Linked DNA regions of Homo sapiens: all the other regions are linked to region 3. Evidence: promoter capture Hi-C in 16 types of primary human blood cells and fetal thymus (Javierre and others, 2016). All regions are on one chromosome and are shown on one strand. The core of a region is centred on a gene start or on the middle of the fragment in contact, and the rest is flanking DNA. Distances in the headings are between cores, read along the strand shown.

The links. The method cuts DNA at HindIII sites, captures the fragments that hold promoters and counts their contacts. A CHiCAGO score of 5 or more calls a contact.
Region 1: a contact is called between a fragment that was not itself captured here and the fragment with the promoter of GPN3 in region 3, in 1 of 17 cell types (total B cells). The highest score is 6.2, in total B cells.
Region 2: a contact is called between a fragment that was not itself captured here and the fragment with the promoter of GPN3 in region 3, in 6 of 17 cell types (fetal thymus, activated CD4 T cells, total B cells and 3 more). The highest score is 12.9, in fetal thymus.
Region 4: a contact is called between a fragment that was not itself captured here and the fragment with the promoter of GPN3 in region 3, in 3 of 17 cell types (fetal thymus, non-activated CD4 T cells and naive CD4 T cells). The highest score is 8.3, in fetal thymus.

Annotation. Positions count from the first base shown.
Region 1 is chr12:110,836,649-110,840,201 of GRCh38, forward strand. No RefSeq gene overlaps it. Among named protein-coding and RNA genes, the nearest start is that of CCDC63, 8.6 kb to the right of the region's middle. The HindIII fragment of the contact is 6,129 bases long and covers 1-3,553 here.
Region 2 is chr12:110,737,457-110,740,991 of GRCh38, forward strand. All of the region lies in intron 1 of PPP1CC (protein phosphatase 1 catalytic subunit gamma), which reads right to left. Among named protein-coding and RNA genes, the nearest start is that of PPP1CC, 3.7 kb to the right of the region's middle. The HindIII fragment of the contact is 2,040 bases long and covers 670-2,709 here.
Region 3 is chr12:110,466,526-110,469,831 of GRCh38, forward strand. It overlaps GPN3 (GPN-loop GTPase 3), which reads right to left and starts at 1,732. Exons shown (of 8, transcript NM_016301.4): 1 at 1,631-1,732. The coding sequence starts at 1,678. It overlaps FAM216A (family with sequence similarity 216 member A), which reads left to right and starts at 2,320. Exons shown (of 7, transcript NM_013300.3): 1 at 2,320-2,493. The coding sequence starts at 2,351. RefSeq lists enhancers at 1,844-1,973, 2,894-3,063 and a silencer at 2,384-2,693. The HindIII fragment of the contact is 2,100 bases long and covers 1-1,935 here.
Region 4 is chr12:110,121,182-110,124,891 of GRCh38, forward strand. It overlaps IFT81 (intraflagellar transport 81), which reads left to right and starts at 3,176. Exons shown (of 19, transcript NM_014055.4): 1 at 3,176-3,680. RefSeq lists a silencer at 2,990-3,259. The HindIII fragment of the contact is 3,207 bases long and covers 1-2,888 here.

The DNA of each region.
Region 1 (3,553 bases), core at 797-3,296, 370 kb after region 3:
AGGGAACAGAGAAGAGAGATTGAGGCACTGAGAGAATAGCAAGAGAAGGAAGCCATTGCCACACTAAAGGTAGGACAAGGCAGGAGAAGGAACTGATGTGATGGAAGCCCAGTGAGGGCTGGAGCTGGGGAGGGGGGCCATATAGACAGAAGCTGTAGCTACATAGGGATGTAGCGACTAGCAGGGACAGGATGTCAAAGTATGCAAGAACTTTGAAAGAAACGTCTCACATCTCTCTCACCCTGTCTGACTGGTCTCCTGCTGGTCTCTGTCATTGGCCACATTCAACCAGAAGACAGAAGGTAAGGGAGACCTTGAGTGATGTGGATCACACTGTCCACTTCTTGAGACACACAGCAGGAAGAGAAGAGTGGCAAATGAATTGGACAGAAGATGGACTAGACGACGAAAAACAATATGTACATACCATGCATATGCTTAATAGATGTGGGTATTTTATTTTATTTTGTATTAAACATTTTTAAATAGAGATGGGGGTCTCATTATGTTGCCCAGGCTGGTCTCTAACTCCTGGACTCAAGCGATCTTCCCACCTTGACCTCCCAAAGTGCTAGGATTATAGGTGCGAGCCACTGCACCAGGCCAGGTGTGGTTATTTTTACGTTTTTCGATGCTCTAGAATGTCCCATGAGTAGATAAGCCATAATTTACTTTAAAAATCCTCCTCTTGGCCATGGCGTGGTGGCTCACACTTGTAATCCCAGCACTTTGGGAGGCGGAGGTGGGCAGATCACAAGGTCAGGAGATCGAGACCATCCTGGCTAACACAGTGAAACCCTGTCTCTACTAAAAATACAAAAAATTAGCTGGGCGTGGTGGTGGGCACCTGTAGTCCCAGCTACTCGGGAGGCTGAGACAGGAAAATGTCATGAACCCAGGAGGCGGAGGTTGCAGTGAACAGAGATAGCGCCGCTGCACTCCAGCCTGGGCGACAGAGCAAGACTCCATCTCGAAAAAAAAAAAAAATCCTCCTCTTGTTCATCTGTCTAGAAAACTTTTGTATCGGAGTACAATACACACATATAAAGGGGTCCATATCAGAAGTGTATGGCTGGATGAATTTTCACAAATGAATTGATTATGTAACCAGATCAAGAAACAGAATATCTGCAGCCCTGAAAGCCTCTTGATTTCCCTTCCAGTTATTTCTTCTCTATCCCCCTCTACCATATAACCTCTATTCTGACTTCTAAAGGCAAAGTTAGCTTCCCCTAATTTTGTGCTTTATATGAATGGCATTTTTCAGTATGAGCTCTTCTGGGCTTGGCTTTTTTCATTCCAAGTGTTTATTTTGTTGATTTTTACTTATTTCCACTTGCCTATGTAGAGATGATTTTACAATCGGCATCTTTGTATATATGGATTTTTTTTGCCTTTGGCTTATTTTCTTTTTCTTTTTAAAAAGTGCAATGCTGTTAATGTAACTTGAAAAATACCTCAGCATTCTAAACATACAAAATAAAGAAGATTCTTCTTCTTCTTCTTCTTCTTTTTTTTCGACATGGAGTCTCACTTTGTTGCCCAGGCTGGAGTGCAGTGGCAAGATCTTGGCTCACTGCAACCTCCCCCTCCTGGGTTCTAGTGATTCCCCTGCCCCAGCCTCCCGAGTAGCTGGGATTACAGGTGCCTGCCACAACGCCCGGCTAATTTTTTTTTGTATTTTTTTTTTTTTTTTTTTGAGACGGAGTCTAGCTCTGTTGCCCAGGCTGGAGTGCAGTGGTGGGATTTCGGCTCACTGCAAACTCTGCCTCCTGGGTTCACGCCATTCTCCTGCCTCAGCCTGGCTTTTTTTGTTTTTTTAGTAGAGGCGGGGTTTCACCTTGTTAGCCAGGATGGTCTCAATCTCGTGATCCGCCTGCCTCGGCCTCCCAAAGTGCTGGGATTACAGGCGTGAGCCACCATGCCCAGCCTTTGTTTGTATTTTTAGTAGAGATGGGGCTTGCCATGTTGGCCAGGCTGGTCTCGAACTCCTGACCTCAGGTGATCTTCCTACCTCAGCCTTCTAAAGTGCTGGGATTATAGGCATGAGCCGCTGCGCCCGGCCTGATTCTTGAACTTTCACTGATGGGTGGCTCTTTGTTTGCTGACAAGGAAGAGTTCTGTAGTTTGTTTAAAACAAAATTTAGGCCAGGTGCAGTGGCTCATGTCTATAATCCCAGCACTTCGGGAGGCCGAGGTGGGAGGATCATTTGAGGCCAGAGGTTCAAGACCAGCCTGGCCAACACAGACCCTGTCTCTGTTAAAAAAAAAAAAAAAAAAGCCAGGTGTGGTGTAGTTCCAGCTCCTCAGGAGGCTGAGGTGGGAGGATCACTTGAGGCTGGAAGGTCAAGGCTGCAGTAAGCTATGACTGCACCACTGGACTCCAGTGTAGGTAACAGAGGGAGACCCTTTCTCGAAAAGAAAAAAAAAGGCTGGGCATGGTGGCTCACGCCTGTAATCCCAGAACTTTTTTAGGAGGCCGAGGCGGGTGGATCACCTGAGGTCAGGAGTTTGAGGCCGGCCTGGCCAACATGGCGAAGCCCTGTCTCTACTTAAAAATACAAAAATTAGCCAGGCGTGGTTGTGGGCACCTGTAATCCCAGCTACTCAAGAGGCTGAGGTAGGAGAATCGCATGAACCCGGGAGGCGGAGGTTGGGGTGAGTTGAGACCGCACCATTGCACTCCAGCCTGGGCAACAAGAGCGAAACTCTGTCTCAAAAAAACAAAAAACAACCAAAAAACCCCCAAACACTTCTCATGCCAGCTGATCCCACTTTGTCCACAGCTAAGAATGGCAGCAGAATGCTATGTCACTCTATACAGAAACAAGACCACCTGAAGCTAAATAGATGCTCACCACGGAGTCAACAGGTCCTGTCTCACAGTGCACGCCCTGAGCTACCACTCCTCCGAAAGCCATCTTCCCCCACGGCCTCATTGCCAAGTGAGGAACATCAAGAGTTTGTCTTGGTTGTTTTGTTCTTTTTTACAAACTATGGATATGTACAGTTGATAACTCAGGATTTCTAGCCAATAACCGTATAGTTAACATCGTCTTAGAATTTAAAAAAATGTCAGAAACATCTTTAAATGCCTTGCCATACCATCAAAGGGCACAGAGAGAGGAGAACACAAGAGTGCCTTTGCATTTTAAAAATCTTTGACTTGGCCGGGCATGGTGGCTGATGCCTGTACTCCCAGGAGTTTGGGAGGCCAAGGCAGGTGGATCATGTGAGGTCAGAAGTTCGAGACCAGCCTAGCCAACATAGCAAAACCCCATCTCTATTAAAAAATGCAAAAATTATCTGGGTGTGGTGGCGCACACCTGTAGTCCCAGCTACTTGGGAGGCTGAGGCAGGAGAATCGCTTTAATCTGGGAGGTGGAGGTTGCAGTGAGCCGAGATAGTGCTACTGCACTCCAGCCTCAGCAACAGAGGGAGACTCTGTCTCAAAAAAAAAAAAAATCCCCAAGTTTGACTTATTTTCTTAGGATGAATCTCCACATTTAGGTTTCCTGGGTTGAAGAATATAAACATTTTTATAACTCTTGCT
Region 2 (3,535 bases), core at 440-2,939, 270 kb after region 3:
CTGGGTGACAAAGAAAGACTCAAAAAAAAAAAAAAAAAAAAAAAAGAAAAGAAAAGAAAAAAGAACCCTTTAAGTTTCTCTGCAAAGTCACCAGCAGAAAGACTTCCATGTTCTGATTATCACAATTGTTTCCACACCCTGCCCTCTCCCATCCTGATTTTCCTAACAGATGGGGTTACACTTCAGGCATTGAGAAGTGACACCAAGGCAGGGAGCTGTGGTTCACGCTTGTAATCCCAGCACTTTGGGAGGCTGAGGTGGGAGGACTGCTTGTGGCCAGGAGTTAAAGAACAGCCTAGGCAACACCCCTGTCTTTAAGAAAAAAAGAAAAAGAAAAAAAAATTAGCCAGGTGTGGTGGTGTGTGCCTATAGATCCGGCTAGCCAAGAGGATGAGGAGGAAGAATCGCTTGAACCCAGGAGTTCAGGTCTCCAGCCTGGGGACAGAGTGAGACCCAGTCTCTAGTAAAAAAAATAAAAGTGACACCATTTTTTTCAAGGCAGATAGGATGTGGCTGCAAAACACTGTCTACTGTTCTCAATAAAGCATCTTGAGTTTTCTACACCTCGAGTAAAGCCAATCCATTAAAAACTTTAATTTTCACAGTCTAAGAACACATTTCGGTAATATACCACTGAGTAGACTACATTTTGAGTTTTCATTTGCTGTAAGCTTTACTGTCGGTGATGACCACTACCTTCTAGAAGAGGGATGACAGTAAACCCCAGTGAAGTGGGGAAGCTGGAGATTTCAGACAAATCACCAAGATCCACAAACACATCATCTGTTCTTGATGCTTTGGATACAGAGGTATGATCTTAAAATATCAAACTCTATCCTGGAATTCCATAAGCTCCATGGAAATGAAATCCTTCCTTCTTGGTCTTGAATGACTTTCCAGTTCTTTATCTACAAAGCGACTGACACCCAGAATATTATCTCCTTCATATTTTAATCTCTCAGGTCAACTAATGGCCTCAATTGTAAATTAAGTTAAATGGTGAAGTCCACATAACATCAATAATTTCCCTGCTTCACCATCAGGAATCCTCACCTAGTCAAGTGGGCTGACTGGTACTGTGATTCTGCACAACAGGTTACAGGTTGTAATAGGACTGTGCTTTCAAAGACATCAAATCACCTCACTAATTTCTACAGCTGACCACTGCTGGGCTACAACTGCATGTCCATTTGCCCAGTTATGAGGAGGAACACCCTAGGCTCAGAATGCAGAGCGCTCCTGTGTGTCACATCCCCCGCAAGCACAACGTCACACACAATTCTGTCAGATTTCACTGCTGCCTCCTGCTACTGACAGGCAAGAGGGCACTGCGGGCACAAGGAGAGTAATCCTTTTTCAATGCTGTGGTTTAAAAAAGGACTCCTGCAAGCTGCAGATCATCTGTCTCCAACAGAGCTTTCCCACCTTGCCTAGGAGGAGAGGAAGTGGGCATATGACCAACATACTGATGGGAAAGGAAGGGCAAGGGCTCACATCAGAGTTCTTATCAATGAGGGAATTAGAAACTGACAACTTGGATGTGAGTGTAAAAATTACCTGCTCTGTAAACAAATAATTACAGGCTGGGCACGGTGGCTCATGCCTGTAATCCCAGCACTTTGGGAGTCTGAGGCGGGCAGACCACTTGAGGTCACGAGTTCAAAACCAGCCTGGCCTCATCTCTACTAAAAATACAAAAACTTGGCCGAGCGTGGTGGTGCATGCCTGTTAATCCCAGCTACTCAGGGGGCTGAGACACCAAAATCGCTTGAACCCGGGAGGCAGAGGTTGCAGTGAGCCAGGATCCCACCACTGCACTCCAGCCTGGGTGACAGAGTGAGACTCTGTCTCCAAAATAAAATAAAAAAATAAATAATTACAGGTGTTCATTAGGAAAGATTACTTTTGTTTTTTTTTTTGGTTAGCATATTAAGAAACCTTCCCCTTTTTAAACCATTATGTTTGTCCTTTATTATCTTTAGGACCAGGGATGGCTAAACACCAGAATATGAACGTTTTATACTGCATCAAAAAGATGAACATATGGGTTATTTAAACAATCTTAGAGTTTCAGAATATCTGAACACTCCCTACCTTCAGAACAACCCTTATGTATCAGAGGATTAAATCTGTAAGCACTTTCTGTGAGCCAGGGCAGAGATCATATTTAAATCACTAAAACAAGTCAGGCAATTCTGCAGAGCCTGACATGGTCTTGCACTTTGACAATGGCCTTCTTCAAAGCAAAGATGCTTCTTGCAAACCAAGATGTGAAGTAAGTTACAACCACCTGCTATGCAAAAAAAATGCTAGCCACCATGGCTCCTTGAAGGAGGTCATTTACAAAGTAAAACTGCCCCAAATCTCACTTGTCTTCAATACATCAGACCAAATCAACAGCTGGCTTATTTTCTCTCAAAATGCCGTTTTACTGTGTAGTTATTTAAATAACTAACATCAGTTATACTAAGGAGTTAACAACCTTAAGTTTTATCATCAGCAAGGCAGAGCTTGGATAAAAGCATCCATGGTGGGTTGCAGAGGTGATGCCTCGCTTACAGAAATACTCAGAGTTCAGAGAAGAAAAGAACTGCAAAGGTTAGTGACTAAGATCTAAACCAACATGCTGTTTTTCTTAAGACTTCACTTTTCAGTTAGCTTTTTAGTACTATTACTCAGCTACTTCTCAACTAGGTTATACTGCTCGCAAGCTTAAAAGATCAATTCTAAACACGTAAAAAAATCTGGCCAAAGTCACAAGTCATATTCCCTCTACTTTCAGATATACTTACATCTTATTTAGGGAAAAAAAAGGTTTTGGGGGCATTATGAAAAGAATAAAATTTAGGCCGGGCACGGTGGCTCATGACTATAACCCCAGCACCTGGGGAGGACGAGGTGCGAGGACTGCTTGAAACCAGGAGTTTGAGAACAGCCTGGGCAACACAGTGAGACTCTCATTTCTATTTTAAATTATTAAATTTAATTTTTTTAAATAAAAAATTGTAAAACAGAATTTATTACCAACATCATTTAACTTAGATATCTACATATCCTCAATGGATCATCTTCAACTGTTTCTCTGCCAATTTAACACCCACGAGAAAAAAAGAAATTTAAGTATACTTTGCAGTTAGCCTATTCCCAAGGCATTAAAATGCACTGCTTTATTAATTTCAGCAAAAAATGAAATATAAGAAAACCTGGTTTTCAAGTGCCACATAACAAGAGGAACTATTAAGAAACAATGATCTCATTTTAGATGTATCATTACTTACCAGGCAAAGTACTTATTACAATTTTAAAGATCAAAATTAACAAAAGCTGTTTATGAATAGAGGCAGTTATGGGCAAACCAGAACTTAAATTAGCAAGCCTTAGATGATCTTAAAATTCTAATGTTTCTAATCCATGCAAATTCCAACTTTTCCTGTTTCCTCAGAGAAATAAAGCCACACATATCCCTGCAGAGATAAGCAGAATTTTAAAATTTAGAAAGAAAATATTTAACAAAAAGTTCCTTTCTTACAGCAAA
Region 3 (3,306 bases), core at 482-2,981:
GGTCTCACTGTCACCCAGGCTGGAGTGCAGTGGCACCATCATAGCTCACTGCAGCTTTGACCCAGGCTCAAGCGATTCTCCAGCCTTAGCCCCCCGAGTAGGTGGGACTATAGGCTCTCGCCACCATGCCCAGCTAATTTTTGTATTTTTGGTAGAGACAGGGCTTCACCATGGTGCCCAGGCTGACCCTGAACTCCTGGGCTCAAGTGATCTGCTGGCCTCAGCCTCCCAAAGTGCGAGGATTACAGGCTTAAGCCACCACACCTGGCCACATCACACTGTATCTTAATTGACAGGTCATCTATTTGTCTTCCCCAAAAGACTACAGACTCTGGGTAAGTTAAAGGCCATAGGTATCTTAGTTACATGTACATGTTTTTACCCAGAATAAGTCAACAGCTTAGAACAATGTGTTTGTTAAAGACTGAGGCCACACAACACCTCCACAGACTCTAGTGTTTCCACACTTCTTCTTTTTTTTTTTTGCGACAGTACCTCTGTCACCCAGGCTGGAGTGCAGTGGCACGATCACCACTCACCACAGCCTCAACCTCCTGGGTTCAGGTAATCCTCCCACTTCAGCTTCCCGAGAAGCTGGGACTAGAGGTACCTGCCACCAGGCCTGGCTAATTTTTGCATTTTTTTGTAGAGACAGAGTTTCGCCGTGTTGCCAAGGCTGGTCCCAAACTCCTGGGCTCAGGCGATCCGTCCACCTCCATCTCCCAAAGTGATAGGATTACAGACGTGAGCCACCACGCCTGGCTATGTTTCCCACACATATGTTATTTGATCCATATCTTCACCATTCTCACTGTATTTGAATGTTCCTAACATTCCCTTAATATTTGTTTACAAGAAAAAATTTTATCCCTACTGTAAACTGAAAACCACTTATATTTGACATAACGTGAAATTAGACATAAAATTATATAAAATCTTTAAATGTTCTATTTTTAGCTAAATACAGGTGCCTATTAAAAGCTCTGAGACTAAGAACTGCTCTCTGAAAAGACCTGGGGATTAAAGAAGTGCTGAAGATACACACTAGCACCGAGCACAACTTCTCCTAAATGCGAAGTTGAGAACTGAAAGAGAAATGAAAAGGGAACAATTTCCCTAACACATTATCTGATGCTCCTTAATGTGGGGTCCATGTACCACCTACCACCTAAAAGCACCTTAAATACCAAAAGTCCATGTCCCAAGTTCTGAGAAACAGTAATTAATGAGACCCCACTTTACCCTCCTGGGAGCGAGACAGGGCCGGATTCTGGAGTTGAGACAAAACTGGATTTATATTTTTTTGCGGGGCAAAGAACTTAATTAACCTTTCTGTATCTCGTTTTCTGTAAAATGAGAAAAATGAGATCTCTCTCACAGGGTTGTTGTAGAAATAAGCGAGGCGTTTCATCTGCTGCCTGGGGCTTAAGTATACAATAAATATTAACAACTACCATTATTTCCCTTTCAAAACAACAACAAAAAAGAACGTGAAGCCAGACAGCAGAAATGAGTTGCGTGGGGTCTCAGGGTTCCCAGTACACACACCCGCCGGCTCACTCCCTCAGGACCCAATCTCCCGCCTTCCACGAACTCCTACTTTTCTCTCCTTGTCCCCGCAGATCCTCACCTTCCCGCTGCCCGCGGGGCCCATGACCAGCTGCGCATACCGAGGCATGTTGGCTCCCGGAGCCGCCCGCCACACTCCCTTAGCCTTCGCGCGACGCCCACTGAGCTCCGGGAAAGTGAAGTGCGAACCAATCGCAATCCACATTCTTTCTACGCCTCCAGTTCTACCACACCTCCTACTACGGGGCAGCCCGCGGGCCAAATCCCGTGAGAAACGCGTCCTGAGAAAAAAGGGGAGGGGCGAGGGAGAGGATTTGCGCGTGCGCAAAAGTAGTTGATGGAAATCGGCCGTTGGGATGCTGTCTAAGCTTGGATACCTGAGTAATAACGGACAACAGATAAAGCTCCGCATCCTTGCGCCACGTGCTTCGGTCCGTGGTTTGCGTGCAGACGTTTGACCTGTATGGTGACCCTCGCGATTTGCAAATGTGCTGAGGATCTGGAATACTGAAGTGGAAGGCACCTCTTGTTTTGGGGAGCATGTATATTTCCCTCCTGTGACGCACTGCTTCCACAGAGAGGTGCAAACGTGCAAACGCTCAGCGACCGCAGCGCTCCTGCCCCTCCCCCACCGTAACTCCGGGGTCGCGGATCTGCCCGCCCCGCTCTCCCGAAGCTGTTCGGGCAGTGTCCGAACGGCTTCGGAGGGGCGAGAAGCCAGCATCCGAGCCGCCTCTCCGGAATACCAGCAGCCTGACGCACGCGTGCTGTCGGGGGAGGGATGCTGGGACAGCTGCTCCCGCACACGGCTCGCGGTCTCGGCGCCGCGGAGATGCCCGGCCAGGGTCCGGGGTCCGACTGGACGGAGCGTAGCTCTTCTGCAGAGCCGCCCGCTGTGGCCGGGACCGAGGGTGGCGGCGGCGGGTGAGGTTGGGGGCCCCGGGGTAAGGGTGGCAGCATGGGGCCCCCGGGTCGTGAGGCCCCCGGGTCGTGAGCCCCGTGGAGGAGGGCTGCGGCCGACCTCTCGTCTCGGGGGCTGGCCCCGGTGCCCTCAAGTGAGAGGCGGGGAGCAGTTTTGTTGTGGACAGAGGGCAGAGGGGAGGACTGCCTCGCGGTTGAGGGAGGGTCTCTGAGGGAAGCTTCGGAGGAGCGTTTGGTGCAGTGGCCACGAGGTGACTGCGACAGTCGCCCGCGTGCATCTCTCTGCCCCGAGGGGGCGCTGCGAGCCCTGCTGGGACGTTTGCTGTCTGGCACAGGACTGTGTGTCCACCGAAAGGCGAGGCGGGAGGGACAGAGGAGGAAGATGTCCCCCGGTTCAACTGGGGGCATCCAGGCCCATAAACCAGTTCCTTCCCTCTAGTGACATGAGCCACCTTCCTGTCAAACGGGGATTTCTTTTTCTTTTTTTTTCTTTTCTTTCTTGTTTTTTGAGAGCGAGACAGTCTCGCTCTGTTGCCTAGGCTGGAATGCGGTGGTGCGATCTCAGCTCACTGCAACCTCAGCCTCCCAGGTTCAAGTGATTCTCCTGCCTCAGCCTCCCGAGTAGCTGGGATTACAGGCGCCTGCCACCACGCCCGGCTAATTTTTGTATTTTTAGTAGAGAGGTGGTTTCACCATGTTGGCTAGGCTTGTGTCGAACCCCTGACCTCAAGTGAGCCGCCCGCCTCGGCCTCCCAAATTGCTGGGATTACGGGGTGAACCATTGCGCCCGACCTCAAACGAGGATTTCTAATCGCC
Region 4 (3,710 bases), core at 35-2,534, 350 kb before region 3:
GAATTGCTTGAGCCCAGGAGGCGGAGGCTGCAGTGAGCCGAGATTGCGCCATTGCACTCCAGCCTGGGTGACAAAGTGAGACTCCATCTCCAAACACAAACACACACACACACACACACACACACACACACACACACACACACACACACAGAATCAGGGGGTGGTAGCCAATCTTCCTTTGGCCTCGGGGACCCAATATATGCAGTTCTCTTTTTTACTGTAAGTCGGAACATAAATTTTTCAATATACAGATTCCAGGAAGCATGCTGACTGGCTTCAAGTTCTTCCCCGTGTTCCAGAGCAACCATATTAAGCATAAAATCTATTCAAGTTTGAGTCCAAAGAGTGGATCCTCTTGCTTATTTGAATTTATACAGGATTGCAGTCTCATAACTGAAAGGTATAGTGTTTGTAGACCAGGGGCAACAGAGAGAGGAGGAACTAAAAGCTATTAGATAAACCACTCCTATCTAGGATTTCTATAGCCTATACCCATAAACCCTATAGAAGGTGCAAATCTAACCATCTTTTTTTTTTCTTTTTTCTTTTCTTTACTTTTTCTTTTTTCTTTTCTTTTCTTTTTTTTTTTTTTTTTGAGACAGAGTCTCACTCTGTTGCCCAGGCTGGAGTGCAATGGCGTGATCTTCGCTCACTGCAACCTCTGCCTCCCAAGTTCAAGTGATTCTCCTGCCTCAGCCTCCCACGTAGCTGGGATTACAGGCATGCACCACCGCACCCAGTTAATTTTTGTATTTTTGATAGAGATGAGGTTTCACCTTGTTGGCCAGGCTGGTCTTGAACTCCTGACCTCAAGTGATCGGCCCATCTCAGCCTCCCAAAGTGCTGGGATTACAGGCATGAGCCATTGTGTCTGGCAAACCATCTTATTTTTAAAGTTTTATTCAAAAAATTCTTTTACTTCTTTTTTTTTTCTTTTTTCTTTTCTTTTTTTAAAGATGGGGTCTCACTGTTGCTCAGGCTGGACTTGAACTCCTGGGCTAAGACTGTCCTCCCACCTCAGCCTCCCAAAGTGCTGAGATTACAGGCATGAGCCACCATGTACATGCCTCATTTTTTTAAAAAGAAAAAACATAAATGTCTTCAGTGCCTCCCAATGTTGGGCACTGTTGTAATCACTTTACCTGTATCAACTCCCTTAATCCTCATGTCAACCCTATTGAGGAAGGTTTTATTATAGCCACGTTTTACAGATGAGGAAAGTTTAGCAAGATAAAGAGAGGGTACACAATGGCAGATGCAGAATTCAAACCCAGGTAGCCAGGGATGTCTCCTAACACACCCAACAGGATCAATGAATTATATAATCCCTTCTACAAATCTTGTATTGTTTCTGTCAGTATTATGTAAGTTATTTAATTCTTTGAGGTTTTGAGTGTTGCTTCCCCTAATTGGTTGTGGGGTGGGGCCAGTTTTAGTTTCTCTCCAGGAGCCCTGCAGGGTACCTACGCTTGATATTTCAACAGTCAGAGGGCAGCCAACAAAGGGACTGGTCTTGGAATGTTGTGTTGCCTCTGCCCAAAACACTCTCCCTTTTCCTGTTTGGCTAATTTTTACTGATCCTTTTTAAGAGATGGGGGTCTCCTTCTGTTGCCCAGCCTGGAGTGCAATGGTGCCACCCCTGACCAATTTTTGCTTTTAATTTTTTGTAGAGAAAGGGTCTTGCTCTGTTACCCAGGCTGATCCTGAACTCCTGGGCTCAAAGTTATCTTGTTGCCTTGGTCTCTCAAAGTGCTGAGATTACAGGCGTGAGCCACGGTGCCAGGCCTAATTTTTACTGATCCTTAAACATCACTCCATTTGACAGAAACTTTCCTGATGGTATGGCCCCTTTGGCACCACCCTCCCCAAATAAACTTGAGGCCCTTAATCTGGGCTCCTAATCATTGGCTTCTCTTGTTACAGCATTTATCTCAATTGTATTGGTGTTGCCCCTTTAATAATCTCTGCCGGCACTAGACTGTCAGCTCCATCAGGGCAGGGGCCAGGTAAGTCCTGCCCTTCTGCATTTCCAGCAGCCTGTACAGTACAGGGCATATAGGAAATGCCTAATACGTAATCTGTTATTTTTTGTTGTGGTAAGTCTGATGCTAAAGCTATAGTTGGTTTCTCCTATGCTGTTTGAGCAGGCAACTAAGTTTTCAAGGTATCAATAATTTGATTTTTTTTCCTTCTCTTTCTTTCATTGCCAGCTGATATCACTAAGTATCGTGGTCTCTAGTCTAATAGAGGTTGGTTCAAAATACCATTTGCCAACTAAGGTCTCCCACAAACCAGCTAGTGCAAATTCCAGTAGACTTTTAAACCTCATCAGTGACTGGGCACAAAGATCTCCCTGCGTCCTGCGTGGGATGTGAACTCCATGAAGACCACAAGGAGGATTTAATTTATTTCTGCAGTCACCTAAAGAGAGCCCACTCAGAAGCCAAAGGAACATTAGGACACTTAGTTCTCCCACACCCCCTTTCAGGCTCTCAGCATACTCAAAACGTATTGGGTTTAAAAAAATTTAATTCCCAGTACAGGCAATGTGGCCCAGTAATGTGACACAGAAGCTGAAATCTCTATGATGAATGTGTCTTCTTTTAATCCTGCCAGAGCCTCACTACAATTGTTCCTATGCATAACCTAATTTGGAGATACTTATGTCAAAAACCTAAATTTGAAGCACTGGCCAAATGCTTGCTCATCCCAACCCCCCTACCACCCAGCCCTGCCTCAAAAACAAACAAAAATCATCACCCACGTTTGGCGCATGAATGCATGCATGCATGCATGAATGAATGAATGAATGAAACATCACACGCATTTAACATAGGTTAATCATGCAGAGAGTATTTTGTAAACTGCGAAGTGCAGGACTTTCGGGAAGCTTATTGTAGCGCGTCTAGGTCGGAGTAACAGTCCCAAATGCCCTCGGCTGTCTGCAGTGGCTCAGCACGTGGGCCCGCTTTGCAAGTAAGCCCGGCTCCCGTCCGCCCCGTCCGCCCCGCCCCGTCCCGCCCCGTCCCGTCCGCTCCGCCCCGCCCCGCCCCGTCCGCTCCGCCCCGCGCCCGTCCTCCCCGCCCTGGCCCGGCCCCGCCCCCCAGCTCGTGCGCGCGCGCGCGGGAGAGCGGCCGCTCGCCCGGAAGTGACGTAACTCTACGGCCTAGCAACCGTTGCCAAGGAGCTCGACTCTGGGAGCGGTCTAGAGCCCGGGCGCCTCCTGGGGGGTGGGGAAACGGTTTCGTGAGGAGAATTTGAGGTAACCTCGCCAACTCGCGGTCGGAAGCTCCTCTGAACCCCGAAATAGGAGAGAGCTCCCGTCCTCTCTCGGTCCTGATGCAGCACCTCGCAAGTGGAAGGGGTCGTCGCGGTTAAGCCCCCGGATAGGGGAATCGGGCCCCTTCTGGGATTCGAGCGGATCCAGGCCGCTCCCTGGAGGGATGAACTGTCGAGGGGCCCAGGGCAGCCCCCGCTAGAGGCCCGGTCGGGTGTGGGGTCCCCTGTCCCCTGTCCCGAGCCCGGGGAGGGGGACACTATTTCTGGTACTCCCAGGAGGCTGCGGGTCGATGCTCGTGCCAGCCTGGGACCCAGGCAGCACGGTTTCTCTCCCAAATTGTGCCAGAGAACACGCACGTCCTGGTTTTCATTGTTCCCCGCCTCCTGCGACTCGTTTGTGGGTGAGTGCTTGGGAATTAGCGCGGCGACTT